Regions from separate parts of the Homo sapiens genome. Here region 1 is linked to region 2. The links are contacts of gene promoters, found by promoter capture Hi-C in blood cells and fetal thymus (Javierre and others, 2016). All regions are on one chromosome and are shown on one strand. Each heading gives the region's core, a stretch centred on a gene start or on the middle of the fragment in contact. The rest is flanking DNA. Distances are from core to core; before and after follow the strand shown. Region 1 holds the start of LAMTOR5 (late endosomal/lysosomal adaptor, MAPK and MTOR activator 5). Region 2 holds the start of NRAS (NRAS proto-oncogene, GTPase).

Evidence for each region. Contacts are between HindIII fragments. The CHiCAGO score rates a contact against its expected background, and 5 or more counts as called.
Region 1: the fragment with the promoter of LAMTOR5 here is called in contact with the fragment with the promoter of NRAS in region 2 in 1 of 17 cell types (non-activated CD4 T cells); the score reaches 6.6 in non-activated CD4 T cells.

The regions. Positions count from the first base shown.
Region 1 is chr1:110,405,339-110,410,785 of GRCh38, reverse strand. LAMTOR5 (late endosomal/lysosomal adaptor, MAPK and MTOR activator 5) reads left to right here and starts at 3,092. Exons shown (of 4, transcript NM_001382293.1): 1 at 3,092-3,200; 2 at 4,407-4,468. The coding sequence starts at 3,166. LAMTOR5-AS1 (LAMTOR5 and SLC16A4 antisense RNA 1) reads right to left here and starts at 2,977. Exons shown (of 3, transcript NR_102697.1): 1 at 2,832-2,977. RefSeq lists an enhancer at 2,921-3,150. The HindIII fragment of the contact is 8,453 bases long and covers 1,191-5,447 here.
Region 2 is chr1:114,714,351-114,718,020 of GRCh38, reverse strand. It overlaps NRAS (NRAS proto-oncogene, GTPase), which reads left to right and starts at 1,250. Exons shown (of 7, transcript NM_002524.5): 1 at 1,250-1,363; 2 at 1,844-1,971. The coding sequence starts at 1,861. CSDE1 (cold shock domain containing E1) reads left to right here. Exons shown (of 20, transcript NM_001007553.3): 20 at 1-1,105. RefSeq lists enhancers at 1,245-1,444, 1,455-1,554. The HindIII fragment of the contact is 3,751 bases long and covers 1-1,788 here.

The sequences.
Region 1 (5,447 bases), core at 1,843-4,342, 4.3 Mb after region 2:
CTGTAGCACAGCCTGGAGTGCTGTGGCTCAATCTCGGCTCACTGCAACCTCCAGCTCCCGAGTTCAAACGATCCTCCTGCCTCAGCCTCCTGAGTAGCTGGGACTACAGGCACGCACCATCACACCCAGCTAATTTTTGTATTTTTAGTAGAGATGGGGTTTCGCCATGTTGGCCAGGCTGGTCTCAAACTCCTGACCTCAACTGATCCACCCATCTCGGCCTCCCAAAGTGCTAGGATTACAGGCGTGAGCCACTGCACCCTGCCCTGTTTTACTTTTTTTTTTTTTTTTTTTTTTTTTTTGAGACAGAGTCTCGCTCTGTCGCCCAGGCTGGAGTGCAGTGGCGCGATCTCGGCTCACTGCAAGCTCCGCCTCCCAGGCTCACACCATTCTCCTGCCTCAGCCTCCTGAGTAGCTGGGACCACAGGCGCCCACCACCACACCCGGAGAATTTTTTGTATTTTTAGTGGAGACAGGGTTTCACCGTGTTAGCCAGGATGGTCTCAATCTCCTGACCTCGTGATCCACCCGCCTCGGCCTCCCAAAGTGCTGGGATTACAGGCGTGAGCCACCGCGCCCGGCTGTTTTACTTTTTTTAATGTGGCCACTAGACTATATTGCCCAGGCTGGACTTGAACTCCTGGGCTCAAGGGATCCTCCTGCCTCAGCCTCCTGAGTAGCTGGGATTATAGGCACGTGCCATTTCACCAGGCAGTACTTATGTTTTCTAATGCTAAGTTTTAAACTGCTTTTTCTAAAACTTATATGGCCTGTACTGTGTTACCCCTAACTTAACATGAATAATTTCTCTAGAGCAGGAGTCCAAGACCCCTGAATTATAACATTCAAACTGGAATTTTGGCTGGGTGCAATGGCTCATGCCTATAATCCCAGCACTTTGGGAGGCTGAGGTGGGCGGATCGCTTGAGGTCAGGAGTTTGAGACCAGCCTGGCCAACATGGTGAAACCCCATCTCTACTAAAAGCACAAAAATTAGCCACGTGTGGTGGTGCATGCCTGTAATCCCAGCTACTCGGGAGGCTGAGGCAGAAGAATCGCTTGAACCAGGAGGCAGAGGTTGCAGTGAGCTGAGACGGCGCCACTGCACTCCAGCCTGGGCGATAGAGCAAGACTCTGTCTCAAAAAAATAAAGAAATAAACAAACTGGAATTTCAAGGAAGCTGCAAGCTTCACTATGACAGCTGCGGAATAAAAAGGGACTCTGAATGCCAGTGCAGTGTATTGGACTTTGGTTCAATACCAAAGTCTGGTATCTTCCGATCTGGGAGCTGGGCCCCAGATTGGAAGGTAGGCTGTGAGTAAAAAGCTGGAGGTGACAGAGTTGGAAGAAACTTAGTGCAAGGAATGATCCACAGAGGGGGTGAGGCTTACCAATTTGAGTAAATTAGCACCACTTTTTCGGGAGGCAATTTGTAAGTATGTATCAAGAGTCTTAAAAAATGATCATGTCCTTTAACCCAGTCATTCCATTTCTAGTAACTTATAAGGAAATTTTAAAACTGCACAGATATTTAGCTATGAGGATATTCAACCAGCATTGTAATAGCTAAAACAAAAAACAAACAAAAGCAAAAAAAAAAAAAAAAGTCCAAGTACAGTGGCTCACCTGCAATCTCAGCGCTTTGGGAAGCCAACGAGGGAGGGTCACTTGAGACTGGGCTACACACTGAGACTCCATCTCTACAATTTTTTTTTTAATTAGCTAGGTGGGGTGGCGGGTCCCTGTAGTCCCAGCTTCTTGGGAGGCTGAGGTGGGAAGATCGCTTGAACCTAGAAGGCTGAGGCTGGACTAAGCCATGATAGTGCCACTGCACTCCAACCTTAATCCACAATTAAGATACAGCTATAAAATGGAATATTTTGCAACTACTACAAAGGATGTAAGTGAAAACTTGACATGGAAAGACATTTATTCTAAACTCTGTAAAGAAGGCCAGCTACAGAATTGTACCTCCAGTATGTATGTCAATTTTGCTTACAAAACAAACAAAACAAAAAAAACCATGCTAGGCGTGGTGACTCAGCCTGTAATCACATTTTGGGAGGCTGGAGTGGGAGGATCTGTTGAAGCAAGGAGTTTAAGACCAGCCTGGACAACACAGCGAGACCCCCATCTCTACAAAAAAACGTAAAAATTAGCCAGACATGATGGCTCGAGGCTGTGGTCCTAGCCAGTCGAGAGGCTGAGAGGTGAGGATAGCTTGAACCCAGGACGTCCGGGTTGCAATGAGCTATAATCGTTCTACTGCACTACAGCCTGGGTAACAGAGCAAGACCCTGTCCCCCAAAAAATTTATTTTAAAAAGGCAAACGAAAAAACATTAAAAGTATACATTTACAAAGACAACTATCTGAAAGGATATTCTCCAAGAAGTTAAAAGTCGTCTTTGGACAGTGGGGCCATAGATGTTTTCCTATTTTTACCAGCTTTATAATTAATTTTTAAAAGTTATTTTCAAGTAGTCCTACCCAGTCTTCCTTACGAGTTAGGACTCAAATGCCACTCTCTTCCCCTAAACTGTCCTGAGTCCCCTCACCATAATAAGCACCAATGTCTTCGTTAAAATCCCGACACTGCCAACACTCAGCTAGGGGGTTGAACCTTGCTCCATCTCGTCCTTTAGTCTCTGTGTGCGTCTTTCCCCCTACAAGCCTACTGACCCCCTCCAAGAGGTCCCGTGTCTTCCCCGTACTTGCCCCACAGGCTAGATCAGACCCTGTCTGACCCCTGGGTTATTGTAAAACTTAAGATCTGTCCCCTAGGTCTCGGAGTCGGTTGAACTAGGGTCCAAAGGTTAAAAAACACTGACACAAAATGCCAGGCCACGAACTGAAGCACTGAGGCCCGGCTGCAGACCTCTCCCGAGAGGGGAATAATCCGTGCCGGCCGGTTCCGCCATGGAGCCAGGTGCAGGTCACCTCGACGGTCACCGCGCGGGGAGCCCAAGCCTTCGTCAGGCTCTGTGCGACGGAAGCGCAGTGATGTTTTCCAGTAAAGAACGCGGACGTTGCACCGTGATCAATTTTGTCCCTTTGGAGGCGCCGTTACGGTCCACGCCCCGCTCGCGTCAAGTGACTGAGGCCTGTGGTGGAGAAGGACGTGCCGTGCCGCTGGGTTCTGAGCCGGAGTGGTCGGTGGGTGGGATGGAGGCGACCTTGGAGCAGCACTTGGAAGACACGTGAGTAGTGCGCGCCTCTTCGGCCTGTCCTGAGGTCGCGGCGGAGGAACTTGAGCGGAACGAAAGGCGCGAGCTGCGAGTACCGGCCAGGGCGTCTCGGGGACGTCGCGCGACCCCCGGGACACGGGATGAGGGGGCTAAACTCTACCCAAGGCCGCAGGGCGGGGCGGGTGACCCGGAATTAAAATCCTGCCGGGCACCGCACATTCCCTCTTGAGCGAGTCTCCCGGGCCCAGGCCACGGGCCAAAACTGCCTATCTCGTTGTTGAAATCGTCTTTACGGTCAGGGTGGTTCTGCGGAAGTTTTAGAAAACGGGTTGACTTTTGGGAAGATTGTGCCAGTTGTGCAGTGTCGAGCCCTGCAGTGTAAACAAACACGTATCTCCTGTGTGTAACCTATCAGTTACTTGGTGCTTAAGTAGATAAAAATCATTCTTTAAATTTTTCGAACAAGCAGTATCTATGTAAAATTCAAAACTGGAAAAGTGTAAAGGGTACAGAGAGACACCTGCCTCCCACCGATGTCCCTCAGCTTCCACTTACCCTCCAGGAGGTAACTTGAGTTTTTCAACAGTTGTTTTAAATGAGTTAGTACTAAAACATGCGTTTTTAACAAGAGTGAAAACATCCTAGATGTTTTTCACGCAGTGTTTGTGGCCCTCCAGAACTCAGCAGTACTTAGCACATTTTTTTCTCTCATCAGAGAGAAACTGGTTTATTTCAATTAATTAACTAGAACTTAAATTTTTTGTGTTCTTTTTTTGAGACGGAATTTCGCTCGTCTTCCAGGCTGGAGTGCAATGGCGTGATCTCGGCTCACTGCAACCTCCGCCTCCCAGGTTCAAGCGATTCTCTTGCCTCAGCCTCCCGAGTAGCTGGGATTACAGTCATGCGCCACCACGCCTGGCTAATTTTGTATTTTTAGTAGAGACGGGGTTTCTCCATGTTGGTCAGGCTGGTCTTGAACTCCCGACCTCAGGTGATCCGCCCACCTGGGCCTCCCAAAGTGCTGGGATTACAGGCGTGAGCAACCGCGCCCGGCCCTAGAACTTAATTTTTTTCTTAGGGTGTGACAATGAAAAAAGATTGAGAAATATTGATTTAAAGCACTTAATGCCTGGTACATAGAACACCTGTATGTTTGTACTTATTTAAATCCTTTTTCTCCCATTATGTACTTCAACTCTCTTGTGTTCCTGGAATTAGAATGAAGAATCCCTCCATTGTTGGAGTCCTGTGCACAGATTCACAAGGACTTAATCTGGGTTGTAAGTATCTCTCATACCAACTATTTGATGAATTGCATAGCATCTGATGTTGACTTGGAGCCTAGCGTGCTATTATTTTCTAGCTTTTATTTCCTGTTACCTTGCCAGGTCTTTCTGAGTTTGAGAGTAGAGATTATCTCCAAATAACAGTATCAGAAAATTGAAACTTTTCAGTTGGTATTTATGAAGGAAGATGTTCCTTGCAGTCCTATAACAATAAATAGTTGTCTCTACTAAAAATAATATTTGAATCATTTTAAATTGAGTCTAGAAAGGACTTCAGATAATAACAGCTGTTAACCATTTATTGAATGTATGCCATATGCTGAGACTGCTAGGCTCTAAATACATTATCTTTAATTTTCACAACAACCCGGCAAGGTGGGTGGTGTACAATTTTGAAGCTCAACTACACTAAACAAGAAGTGAATAGGCAGTAAAATGGGATTTCAGTGTTGGACATACCTGGTCTCAATCCCTTGCTCTTTCATTTGTTAGTAGTGTGAACGTGGACCAAAAAACTACCTTTTAGGCCCTCATTTTCTTCACTGGGTTGTTATTTGATAATGGTAATAATCATAGAATTATATTTATTGAGCTGTTATGTGCCAAGCACCATTGTAAGTGCTTTACATATACTCTTTTATTCCTCATAACAACCCAGTGAGGTAGAAAAAGAAATTGAGGGACCAGGTGCAGTGTCTCACGCCTGTAATCCCAGCACTTTGGGAGACCAAGGTGGGCAGATCACTTGAGCCCAGGAGTTCAAGACCAGCCTGTGCAACACAGTGAGACCCCCCATCTCTATTTTTACAATAAACATATATATATGTTTTTAAAATTTAAAAAAAGAGGCCGGATGCGGTGGCTCACACCTGTGATCCCAGCACTTTGGGAGGCGGAGGCGGGTGGATCACCTGAGGTCAGGAGTTCGAGACTAGCCTGGCCAACATGGTGAAACCACATCTCTACTAAAAAT
Region 2 (3,670 bases), core at 1-2,500:
GTTATGTTTAAAAAAATAAATAAATTTAAGAAAACCATTTTAAATAATGCACAGTTGCAGCCTGGAAAAACTTAAGGTGGCGCCTTATAGTATCAATTTTAGGAGCTTTATTTGGTGCATTTAACGCAACTGGTAATTGCAGAATCCACTTTGCCTGTGTAAGTGAAAAATATAGACTGTTATCTTGTTGGCCCTATGAAATTCTGCACTTTTCATTATATACTCTACCTTCATTAATTACTTCTGGCAAGATGTTCTGCCTTAGCACTCAGTTGCATTCTTTTCCTTTTTCTTCCTGTTCATTATGCTTTAATTCTGAGGACCATATGAGGGTAGAATATATTATCTTTTAAAAATTACAAAAATTTGTATAGGCAAACCATTTCTTAAAGTTGATGGCCAAATTTTAAAATGTTATTTTTCATATCATTTATAATCTTGTCACAATCCACTTAAAGAAGTTTGGTTATATTTCAGTGAAAATTTTCTTCCAGAGTAGGTTTTTTTTCGTGGGTTGGGGGGTAACTTTACTACAATTAGTAAGTATGGTGCAGAATTTCATGCAAATGAGGAGTGCCAGCAGTGTGATAATTTAAACATATTTAAACAAAAACAAAAAAAATGAATGCACAAACTTGCTGCTGCTTAGATCACTGCAGCTTCTAGGACCCGGTTTCTTTTACTGATTTAAAAACAAAACAAAAAAAAATAAAAAAGTTGTGCCTGAAATGAATCTTGTTTTTTTTTATAAGTAGCCGCCTGGTTACTGTGTCCTGTAAAATACAGACACTTGACCCTTGGTGTAGCTTCTGTTCAACTTTATATCACGGGAATGGATGGGTCTGATTTCTTGGCCCTCTTCTTGAATTGGCCATATACAGGGTCCCTGGCCAGTGGACTGAAGGCTTTGTCTAAGATGACAAGGGTCAGCTCAGGGGATGTGGGGGAGGGCGGTTTTATCTTCCCCCTTGTCGTTTGAGGTTTTGATCTCTGGGTAAAGAGGCCGTTTATCTTTGTAAACACGAAACATTTTTGCTTTCTCCAGTTTTCTGTTAATGGCGAAAGAATGGAAGCGAATAAAGTTTTACTGATTTTTGAGACACTAGCACCTAGCGCTTTCATTATTGAAACGTCCCGTGTGGGAGGGGCGGGTCTGGGTGCGGCCTGCCGCATGACTCGTGGTTCGGAGGCCCACGTGGCCGGGGCGGGGACTCAGGCGCCTGGGGCGCCGACTGATTACGTAGCGGGCGGGGCCGGAAGTGCCGCTCCTTGGTGGGGGCTGTTCATGGCGGTTCCGGGGTCTCCAACATTTTTCCCGGCTGTGGTCCTAAATCTGTCCAAAGCAGAGGCAGTGGAGCTTGAGGTAAGTTTATCTCATGCATAGTGTTCGGCTTTGGGCTGTGGAATGTTCAGGCGTTTCACTGATGCCAGAAATGGAGCAGAATCTATCAGCTGGAGACAAAGGCCTTGGGCGGGGGTCCTTCCATTTGGTGCCTACGTGGGGAGATCTTTGGAGACAGAAGGGAGAATGGGAAGGAGTTGCGGCCTGGAGGCTTCCTGCTAGAGCTGAGAAGCCTTCGGGGAGTAATAGGAAGGGGGATTTCCATTGCTTAGGCTGAGGGCGGGGCCCAAGGACTGTTGAAAAATAGCTAAGGATGGGGGTTGCTAGAAAACTACTCCAGAAGTGTGAGGCCGATATTAATCCGGTGTTTTTGCGTTCTCTAGTCACTTTAAGAACCAAATGGAAGGTCACACTAGGGTTTTCATTTCCATTGATTATAGAAAGCTTTAAAGTACTGTAGATGTGGCTCGCCAATTAACCCTGATTACTGGTTTCCAACAGGTTCTTGCTGGTGTGAAATGACTGAGTACAAACTGGTGGTGGTTGGAGCAGGTGGTGTTGGGAAAAGCGCACTGACAATCCAGCTAATCCAGAACCACTTTGTAGATGAATATGATCCCACCATAGAGGTGAGGCCCAGTGGTAGCCCGCTGACCTGATCCTGTCTCTCACTTGTCGGATCATCTTTACCCATATTCTGTATTAAAGGAATAAGAGGAGAGAAAGTAAAAAGTTATTTTGGGTATACATTCAGTTATGCAATAAGCTTAACGTGTTTATAGAGAACAGTTCATTTTTATTAGCTGCTGAAGTTTCTAAAACCTGTCCAGTTTTTAACAGTTCTGTAAACTATTGCAAACTCAGTGTTGAGTTCATTCATGAGTTTCTTCATATATAACAGCTCTATTACATGAGAAACACAGGCCATAGTAGCGAGACTGTCTGATTGTATGGGAGATAATAGGATGGAGATAAAGGATTCAGAGATGAGTGTTCTTCAATATTTATTTATTAGCTAGTTGAAGCAGCTGAGACCAGATGATTGGAGTAGCAAGAACTTGAGATTTTTAGTCTTTATGCCTAGGATTTTGGTCCCTGTTTGCAGTTTATTTAGTTGTGTGATATTGAGCAACTGAATCTCTCCCAACCTCATTTTCCTCATGTTTTAAATTACCATAAACTTGTCCTGCCTACCACACAGGGATGTTATGGAAAGTTAAATAATATATTTAAGTTATTTATGAATGGTAAAGCACTATGTAATAGTACTTAGGGATTCTATTGTTATTATGAGAGTTCATGGTACAGATTGTCTTCAGTAAGTGGCACCTAAGGCTCTTTAAATAAAGGGTTTTGCCGGACACGGTGGCTCACGCCTGTAATCCCAGCACTTTGGGAGGCTGAGGCAGGCGGATCACAAGGTCAGGAGTTCAAGACCAGCCTGATCAACATGGTGAAACCCCGTCTCTACTAAAAATACAAAAATTAGCTGGGTGTGGTGGCAGGCACCTGTAATCCCAGCTACTCAGGAGGCTGAGGCAGGAGAATCGCTTGAACCAGAGGCAGAGGGTGCAGTGAGCCGAGATCACACCACAGACCTCCAGCCTGGGCAACAGAGCGAGACTTCGTCTCAAAAAATAAATAAATAGATAAATAAATAAAGGGTTTTGTAATTTTGTTCAGTTTAGAAATGCCTAACTTTAGAGATTATTTTAATCAACACCTGGCCTCCCTACCATCTGGCTACTCGTGTTTAATTGATGAAAACTAACTCTAATGTAGCCACTATAAAAAATTGGTTGCTAACCCTTGGCAAAATCTTTATTTTGAGCTTAACAGCTTTAATATTTTACATGAAATGTTTAATATTTTAATTAAATATTTTTAAATGTTTGATTTATTGAGCAATTTACATAAGTAAAATACATAAATTTTATGTCTACAGCCCAGTGCTTTTTGCGTTTCTATATAGTCATGTAGCTACCACCCAGATAACAGTATAGAGCACTTCCAGTACTCCAGAGAGTTCTCCAAGTGTGATGACATTAAAATACAAGTAAAAGTCCTGTTGCCATAAAACCAAAATGAAAGTATTTTTTATATGATCTATGCATGTTTGTCTTCCTGAGAAATTAAACATAACTATACCTTGTTTGGAACCTTTAAGAATTTGATTCAGGAATATTTCCCAAAGGTACATCTGTCATGATAAAAAAAAAACCTTCTCTGAAACAAAGGTATTTGTATATTTAGTCATAAACACAAATGATGTATATAGGGCCAGGTTATAATTGGTGGAGGTATGTTTAGATTTCTTTAAGTAAAATA